Linked DNA regions of Homo sapiens: region 2 is linked to region 1. The links are contacts of gene promoters, found by promoter capture Hi-C in human tissues and cell types (Jung and others, 2019). All regions are on one chromosome and are shown on one strand. The core of a region is centred on a gene start or on the middle of the fragment in contact, and the rest is flanking DNA. Distances in the headings are between cores, read along the strand shown. Region 1 holds the start of LRRC72 (leucine rich repeat containing 72). Region 2 overlaps LOC105375168 (a long non-coding RNA gene).

Region 1 (4,915 bases), core at 1,346-3,845:
TGTTCTTAAAAACTTATTCTATATCAATACAAGAATCTTTTACTCTGTAAACAATACACACAACCTGTCTAGGAGAGTTAATCAAATAATAAATTTTTTGAACTGAACTTCCAGCTTTTACTGTTGAAGAAACTGAGGCCCAGAGACATTAAGTGATTTGAAGGTGGCCAACAACTAGTTGATGTCAGAGCTGAGACTAAATCCCACATGCCCTGACTTGGAGCAGAGGGTTCTTTCTTCTTATCCAAATCCATGTACATGATATGATAGAGCTTTCAAACTGGGATATGCATACCCCTGCGGGCAATGGCAGCAAGCCAGGGAGGTAAAGCCACAGGATAAACACAGGGTGTCTTGCTTCAATGTAAATATTACACAAAGATTTGAGGAGAGTTTGGGGAACTGCTTTATTTTTATATTAAAACAAGATTGATTGTAAAGAAGAATGCATATTTTACATGAATTTTAAAAATTTCAGGCTGGATTCCTCAGGCTATAATCTTACCCCATGGAGGTAAAAGTTCTCTCTGCTCACTCTACTGGGAGTAATTCTTTTGTAAAAATTTCATGTCACCAATGTGAGAATGTCTGGGAAGGAGCTTTTGTCCAAAAAGTGCCTTCATTAACCTCCATCCTTGAGATTCCATAATTAAATTTGCTTTATTTTAGCCTTCGTGATCAGTTAATTTTTTCTTGAAGAAGGAACACATTAAGACCTTATAATAAGTGAGTTTTGAGTTCCTTTCCTAAGAATAAGGTTTTTTTCAAAATTACCTTTTTAATATGGGGTAAAATGCTAAAAAAATAAGAATAAAAATTTTTAATGTGATTTTAGTAGAAATTAACTGGTGACTAGTTTACATCTGCAAGATGCTCTTTAAAACTATTTTGCATATGGTTATAAAGTCACATTTGTGTAATGTAGAAAACTGAACAAGTATTGTGCATTTCCATTTTTTCATGTAGCATATTCGTGAATAATATCTGCAATGCTATAACACATATCAACAGCAAAAATGAGCCAATGAATTATTATATATGCCTTCTCAGTGGACCATTTCTCTCATTTGAGTTTTATTTCCAGGATAGAAACTACTTAAACAATAGTTCTTAGATGATTAATCCCTCCACAATAACTTGGAGAGCTTTTACCCCCACCTCAGCCCCAAATACATATTAGAACTACTGAAACAATGTGTACTTGATTTCCCCACTGAGACATTTTTTAATGCTTCATTTCAACACCAGCATTTTTTTTTAAATGCAAGTAGCTTGACCCATTTCAGAAAGCTACATTTGATTCCTAGATTTCAGGTTCAAATTTGGAGCCAAGAAACCAACTCGTTTAATCCAGTCAACATTAATTAAGCGCAGTCCGTTAAGCTCTGGCAGAAGAGAGAGATGTCTTAAACAGGATCCTGCCTCCAAAGTTACCCAAGCTAGAGGGAACAAGCCTCATATAAATAAAGTCACAAGATAATCTATACTAGAGGTTCCAATACAGTTACAGGAGACAGAAATTTCAAAAAACAAAAACAAAAAACAAGGTTGGAAAGATTGGCCAAATAGTGGCTCAATTTGTCCATTTTCTGCCAGAGAAAGGATTTCTCAGCTACTGAAACAATATGTACTTGTTCTTAGCCAATGAAGTCAGTAGAGAGTTCCTTCCATTTTTCTGTGCACCTGGACTCTTGAGGAGCCTTAATTCTACCACCCCCACCTTCATCCCAGGTGTGGGTCTATGATGAGGCAAGTAAGGCAGTGGCCTTGGACCCAGATGTAAGAAGCACCAAAAACTCAGCATTCAAAATAAATATTTTTTTTTGTTTGTTTTTGAGACAGCGTGTCCTTCTGTCACCCAGGCTGGAGTGCAATGGCTGGATCTTGTCTCACTGCAACCTCTGCCTCCCAGGTTCAAACTATTCTCCTGCTTCAGCCTCCCAAATAGCTGGGATTACAGGCGCATGCCACCATGCCCGGCTAATTTTTGTGTTTTTTTAAAATAGAGACAGGGTTTCTCTATGTGGGCCAGGCTGGTCTAGAACTCCTGACCTTGGGTGATCCACCTGCTTCAGCCTCCCAAAACACTGGGATTACAGGCTTGAGCCACCGCACCCGACCTCAAAATAAATATCTTAATGCAATATTAAAAAAAAAAAAACAAAATGTATGCAAATAACATGCATAATGAACAAAATTTCAAACTTTTAGAGACACGATCAGTAGTACTGTCTTTTTTCCTCTTGCGTCAAGATCCACAGCGACTCTGCAGCGCACCTCTTCACCCCCAGCCCGTACATGAGGCCAGGGGTCCACACACACACACGTCTAATTTCCAGAAACCTAAATTTCCTGATATTCATATCTCGAATCAAAGTGATGATTACTGGGTGACTGCCGTTGAGGCGCTCTGACCTCCTCCTGGTCCCGGACATAGCTGACCCCCGCTCTCCGGCATCCACCGGACGCATCACCATGAGCAGGGGTAACACGCGTGTGTCCGAGGCACAAGGGTGGGTGTTGCAGGGCCACACGCTCAAACGTCACAAAAGTCAGCGTTTGGCTTCAAATATTTCCCAGTGTGGACTGGCTTTTAGTCAACGGGAATGCGGTAACTGTTGGTAACAGAACAACGAGCTGTGCACCAAGCCAAGTCTCTCTTCGGTGCCACCGGCGGGCGAGGCCGGATTAATCACCGCTGCTTCGGCCGCCCATGTGTCCTGATGTCCTGGGACCCGAACCCCGTGCCCCGTACCTTGCGATGCTGGCGCCTACGGAGGGCATCCGAAACTGCCCTACAGAGCAGTCGCCGGGTAAGCGGCACCTGCCTTCCCAAGCCATCAGCCCCTTTGGCCCCCTGCCCCAGGGCCCCACCTCCTGCCTGAGGACTCCAGGCAGGTACTGAATTTGGAGGGGAATTTCAGTAGCCTGAAGACGGAGATAGGTCAGATTTCAAATTAATTGGTTAACATAAAAGGAGAACAAAGAATCCAGCACAAAATTGGGATGTGAACAGCTACGAGCGGTGGCGAACCCCCCTCAGCATCTCTGCCTGGGCTAGAGGTCCTAATCCCCTGGGTGGGGTTTGAGGACTTCCCAGTCCACACCAGTAGACTTACACTGACCTTTTACCACTCAGCATCTGCTGCGTATATAATTATAGTGGTTTGCAGATTAAGTGAAACGGAGATTAAGTAAATTTCGCAGTCTTGATTCTCCAACAGGGGTGTGTGTGTGTGTGTGGATGTGGGTGTGGGTGTGTATCCCTAATATATTGTTCCCAGCAAGGGCAAATCAACACCTTGAAGAGAAAACGTTATTTGATGAGCCCTACAAGCAGAGTCGAGAGCAGTTAAGATAATGATTAAAAGAATATTTGGATATTTGGGTGGGGAAAAAAAAATCTCAGAATTGTGCCAGGTAAGACCTAGCAAGGCTTTCTGGAGTTCTCTGACTCATCTGCAAAGATGGGGGGCTGCTGTGATTAAACGAGGCCGAGAGTTCTGTAATGAATTGAAAGCTCTTCACACTAAGTCCTAACTTGTGCCTGCGTGTTGCATGGAGGTATAAGAATTTATCATCAGAGAGGGCATTTTCTTCTATAGGTTTTAATACTGACCTTATTCTTCTAGGATTTAATAATCCTGCCATTTTCAAACATTTTTTTCCCTTTGATTCTAGATCCTCAGGCATCGGGTGGTGGAAGAAGCAGCTGCTGTTCTCCCCATGCTAGAACTGTTCACATCCCAATTTTGTGATGGACTCTTTTTATTCTCCTTTTAGGTTAACCAACTAATTTAAAATCCGACTTTTCACCCTCTTCAAGCTACTGAAATTCAGGCCTCTAAATTCAGTACCTTTTCTGAGTGACATCCTCCACCAGCCAAAACAATGTTGTAGATTGAAATTCTACCTTCTTCAAATGCTCCTCTGCCTCCTGCTGTCCTTTTCTTCTTCTACCTCACTTGACAATCATCCTCCTCTGTCTCCTTTCCATCATGTTTCCCTCTCCCTTCTCTCCATGTAGACACTTCATCGTGATCTTCCTTGGATCCCACTCTCCTCTGGTTAACTGACTTATCAGATCTGCACAGCTGCCCTGATGAGATCTCTGATGAGTTCCACATTTACCCTTGCAGCTTTCTGGTGGGCGCCTTGACCAGTCTGTTCCACCAGGGCCTCAATTTCAGCATTTCTCAGCTGCATCTGTCTTCCCTCCCATCATCTTTCTCATCAAGTCATCACATCATCATCATCATCACCTGTGACTTCCCTCGTGCTAATTCTCTGCCTCCATTTACTTGCCAGTTCCCATTCATTCTCCCTAAACACACCCCATGTCATATCTGTTCACTGCTCACTCACACCTGCCCCCACCCTGAGGGGGCAGGCTCATTAGCTGGCAGACTTTGTTTCCCAGAGGCAGTCTTGCTTCCTGTCTGCAGTTCTCACTGCACACCAGGCCCCCATACACATCACTGCTAGAGTCATCTTCCTGAAGCCTGGCTTTGTCACATGTTTTTTCTAGTTCAAAAATCCAGTAATATCTTCCTATTGCCCCAGAAGTGAGCATAATGCTGAATCACCCAATAGTTAGTTCTGTGCTTTCAGGGTACCAACAAAGCAAGAGCACTAACAGAGAAGGAGGAAAAGTGTTTCTGAAACAATTTGATATTGGATATTGTGTAAAAGCATTGACATTGTTATCCTGGGAAAAATCAGAATTAGACTTTCTCACATGAATTTTACCATACAGTTACTTAGAATATATATTTCATATATATGTACATATACATGTGTTTATATATCATATAAAATTAAATGATGTTAAGTTAGAGTTCTCAAGGCCTGAAGAAGTTTTCTCCAGGCACTGATTAAGTACACACTTCTGAGCCTAAATTTCAAAGTTGACATA
Region 2 (4,915 bases), core at 798-3,297, 60 kb before region 1:
TATTTTAGAAATCCAATGTAAACAAATTTTTTCTCCTGGAAGCTTCCTTTTTTCCCTTGTGATTCCCTATATTTATTTGTGGATGGTAACTAATAATATATATTAGTTACGTTTATACACTTTACCAAAATTGCATATGCCCTGAAATAAATTGACAAAACAACCGGAACTTGAGCTATCTAAAACAATACTTTTTAAAATGGTCATTTTGCATGATTTTGACAAAACAATAGTTTAATTCCTGGAAATGTTTTCTTTGTGGATGTTTGATAAAACTTCAGTCTGTGCTTGCACTATTAAACCACTGTTTTAGTTAGGTTAACTTTAAAATCACTACCTAGGGAAGAATGCCAACCTGCACATGCAGCAGATTACTCCCAAATTGTTTCACAACATATATACGGTTCAGGTTAGTTACCAATAAAACAATTCTACAGGAATGTGAGCTAATGCTACCAGAAAAGAAAAAAAAAAACTGTACAAGTAAAACACACTTACTGTTCCGATCCAGTCCAGTGTTACTGAAATGCCTGCCTCCATTTCTGGCTTGATTCAACGTGCTGTTGCTGCTGGGGTGTGCTGGAACAGGTTTAACCACATGTGAATAAAGGATTTCTGTGGCATCATTTTTAAAAGCCAAACAGCTTTTCATTAGGATGCATGCAAGGGGAAGGAGATAGAAATGAATGGCAGGAGGAAGCATGGTGAGTAGAGGATTTGCTTGACTGAAGAGCTGGTTAATTCTTTTGCTTCTGCTTCTGCACTGTAACTGTGAAATTCCTCCTCAAGCTTCCCTTTATATATCCATAGAGGTTTGGCGTTCATTCAGGTGTAAAGTTGTGTAGAGCTTCAGAGTGAAAACACAGAGAAGGGGTGGGATCCCTACATGACCCTGCAAAAGAATTTTACCAATGGAAAAGAAGACTGCAGAAAAGGAGGAGCTTGGTATACAAATTGCCTGAAATTTCAGAGTTGGACTTCATCACTTGTCTGTGAGCCGACGCAGGCAGGCGTATTCTATATCAACGACAGACTCTCCTCTGCCATTTCCTTTCCTGAATCTAGTTAACATTCGGGTTTAATTTAAACGAAAATACATCGCTGTTCATTTGAAGAGACTGGCTTTCCCACAGTTGTTCTGTACTTTCCTCAGATTTTAGAGTATTTGGGTCAGAAAGGGAGTTCTTCCCAGATAACAGGAGGAATTCATGTGAGTTTAAATATTGCAGGACTTGCATGAAGCACCTAGTTAGCTAAACATTGCTTTCTCTCAAGAAGCAAACCAATATTTTTTTTTCCTTAAAGTAAAAGGCACAGAGCTAAAACCTGCCCCCTGGACATGCTTAAATAATGCAGCTTTGATCTACAAGAACTACTGTGCTGCTAGGTAAATTATTGCCAGGGGTTTTGTGTGGAGAATAATGAGCATAGTTCTGTCTACATTAAAGTAAGTAATACTCATTTTTGTCTTAAAAATGTGTCACAAGCATTAATATCCATAGCATTGTTTTACATAAAGCCATTTGTGACAGACTTTTTAGCGGATTCAAAATAATTTTTTCTAGATTTTTTCAGAACACAGATTCTACTCGTATTTACTAAATATTTTGCTCATTACTTCCTTTGACTCTGCTGCCCAAGTAAGAAACCTATTTTTCTGAATTACTTTACCGGCACCCAGAACACGTGTTCCATTAATTAATTATAGGCCACTGATGATCCCTTTAAAACAATCATAAAATTCTATTTCATCATGGGACATCTCAATTGGAATAACTATTCTGAATCATCTTTTCAATTATAAATCCATTTTTGTCCTTTGTGTGGTTACCTAAATCACCTAATTTTGTATCTCTTTTCTGTATAAGCTTTTGTCCCTTGTAACTGCCATTTGCCTATATGTCTGCCTACCTGAATTTCTCCATAGCAGCGCTACTGGCATTTTGGAAGAGACAGTTCTTTATTATTGGGGGACCATCCTGTGTGTTTATCAGCATCCCTGGCTTCTAACGACTAGACGCCAGTAGCACCCCCCTAGTTGGTAACAAAAATAACTCCAAACATTGCCAAATGACCCCTACAGGGTAAAATCACCCCCAATTTAACCACTAATTATCTATTCATCTATCTCACTATAAAAGAAAGTAAAAATAAGTATAAAGGAAAAATATTATAATACCAAGAAATTATTGTTCTTTTTTAGGACAGAAATGGTACCGTAGTTTTGTTTTAAAACAATGACTGCTTCTCTATTAGAAGTATATACTGGAATATCCTTAGATGAAATGATTTTATATCATCTTTTACATTATATGGAATAAGCTAGAATAAGCTTCAAAAATAATATGAGGAGGTTAGAGGTGTGAGTGGCAAAAGATTAATTATAAGTTGATGGTTGTTACAGTAGGATGGTAAAGTATTATATTCTGTTTATTCTTGTGTATGTTCCAAATTCTACATAATAAAAAGTTTAAAAACCAGAGTCAGACAATCAGTTTAATGGACGTATACTTCCTACTAACAATATATCTCTATCCTACGATTGGATAGTCATTTATTCTAACATCCTTCCTGGAAAATCATATGTCAGTTTATTTTGTGCAAATGGAGATTACAGGCATCCTTCTAAAATACTAACTATGAAGAATTTCCTGCCCTACTTATCAGGGGACTTGATGTTAATTACACAAAGCATGTTAATATTAATCATTGACCTACAGACCCAATGCCTAAAGGAAATTAAAAGGTCAAAATAATCTAATCTGTTCCTCACTACTTTTTCTTTTTCTGTGTCAGAAGCAGGAGATATTTTAATTGGAATTTAATTATCGGGTTGGGCTAATGAGGTTGACCAAATTCACGCACAGTTATTAAATCTGCTGCACCTAGTATTCTGAAGGCTCAGCCTTAGGATATCACCTCAGGCAGAAGCAAAATTAGAAGAGAAGGCAATGTCGTTGTGCATGTGGACAGGACAAACTCAGAGTTCTTAGGCCCAATTTACCCGACAGACCCCTAGAGAACTATTTTGAGGCTGGGTGCAGTGGCTTCTGCCTGTAATCGTGCACTCTAAGAGGCCAAGACAGGAGGATCACTTGAGCGCAGGAATTCGAGATCAGCCTGGACAACATAGTAAGACCTTGTCTCTGCAAAAGTAAAATAAAAACTAGCTGAGCATGGTGATTCATGCCTGTAGTCCCAGCTACTCGGGAGGCTGAGGCAGGAAGAACGCTTGAGCCTGGGGTGTTGAGGCTGCAGTGAGCCATGATACCACCGCAACACTCTAGCCTGGGCAAGAGTGCGACCCTGTCTCAAAATAAATGAATAAATAAAAAGAAAGAAAACTACTTTGCTAAAATAGAAATAATCATAAATTTAATACTTAACAGTTATTCTGATCAGTTTAAAACAGCTCCATTAAAAATAACCACAAACTATTGCTTCTCGGCCTTTTGGCTCAGATCAAGTGAAGGATAACCACAAACTGTAATAACCCAAGAAGAATGGATATAGATGTTTAATATTGAAATTGATTCTTTCTCATCTTCAGGCATTAGTATGTACCTGTTATTCCCTTTGCTTATAACACTCTTCCCTCATCCTCTTCCTTGGCTAATCACCTACTTTTCCTTCCAGTCTCAGTTTAGATGGCAATAGCACTGAGAAAACTTGCCTTGTCCTCTCTTCCCTCTATCTGCTCGTCTCAATCCAGCATACATGTGCCAGAGCAGCAACTTGCCTGATGACTTGGCAAGACTTATGAAAGAAGAACCATTTCTATCTTATGGGTATTGTGGAATAAGTGGTTAAATTAAGTATTTAGGAAATGTAGAAAAAATATTCTTTCATTAAAAAGAGATTGGCTAATATTTGTGGTAGGCAGTCGCTAAGATGGCTCCTAATGATCCCCTTCTCATGATATTCACATCCTTGTAGCAATCCCCTTTTCTTCAGTGTGGGAAGAACTTAGTGATTAACTTCTAATTAGTATAACATACTAACATGATGAGATGTGACTTCTATGATTAGGTTTTCAAAAAACTATGACTTCTGTCTTTCTGGCTGCTCTCACTCTCTTGTTTGCTTTGGTGGAAGCCAGCTACCATAATGTGTACTTCTCCATAGGAAGGTCCATGTAACAAGGAACTGATGCTCATAACCAACAAGCAACTGAATGAGGGCCTCAGCCAAACAGATGAGAATTCCATCAACAATGACATGGGTGAGCTTAGAAGCAAATCCTCTCACAGGCAGATGAGGCTGCAGCCCTGTCCTACAACCTGAATGCAAACTTTAGGAGAGACATCAAACCAGAGGCACCCACAAGAACTATGAGATAATAAATGTTTGTTGTTTTAACTAAGTTTTGGGATAATTTGTTATATAACAGATAATCAGTACAATGTTATTTGTAATTAAGTCATTTTGTGAATAATGCTAGGGCCTTGAGAGCATCAGATGTGGAATCATTAGACATGGTGACTGTGCATCTTGCCATCTTTGGGAGAGTGTTAAGACTTATTTTCTGTTCTCAGCTGTGCATCATTGCAAGAAAAATAAAATACAAATAGGAAATTTTGTTAAAGACTTATTTTCTAGTCCTCAGCTGAGCCATCAATGTGGTGGCATTATTAATAATCATATAATGGTATTAGAATTACTACTAGCAGCTTGATTTGTAAAAGCTGGAAACTAATTTTGATTTTCTAAATAGTGTCATCATATGACTTGGAAACTGAATTTGAAAATCTGAATTTGGATCTGAAATTGCATCTTAGTTCTACCATTTACGATATGTATGAACTTGGATATACAGTTGACCCTTGAACAACACAGGTTTGAACTGTGAGGGTGCACTTATACTTGGATTTTCTTCCACATCTGCCACCCCTGAGACAGCAAGACCAACCCTTCC

The links. Contacts are between HindIII fragments. The study calls those that stand out against the background at their distance.
Region 2: a contact is called between a fragment that was not itself captured here and the fragment with the promoter of LRRC72 in region 1, in 1 of the 25 tissues and cell types used here (hippocampus).

What each region holds. Positions count from the first base shown.
Region 1 is chr7:16,524,230-16,529,144 of GRCh38, forward strand. It overlaps LRRC72 (leucine rich repeat containing 72), which reads left to right and starts at 2,596. Exons shown (of 9, transcript NM_001195280.2): 1 at 2,596-2,813. The coding sequence starts at 2,724. The HindIII fragment of the contact is 16,941 bases long and covers 1-4,915 here.
Region 2 is chr7:16,464,966-16,469,880 of GRCh38, forward strand. All of the region lies in intron 4 of LOC105375168 (a long non-coding RNA gene), which reads left to right. It overlaps SOSTDC1 (sclerostin domain containing 1), which reads right to left and starts at 773. Exons shown (of 2, transcript NM_015464.3): 1 at 499-773. The coding sequence starts at 703. The HindIII fragment of the contact is 5,680 bases long and covers 1-4,887 here.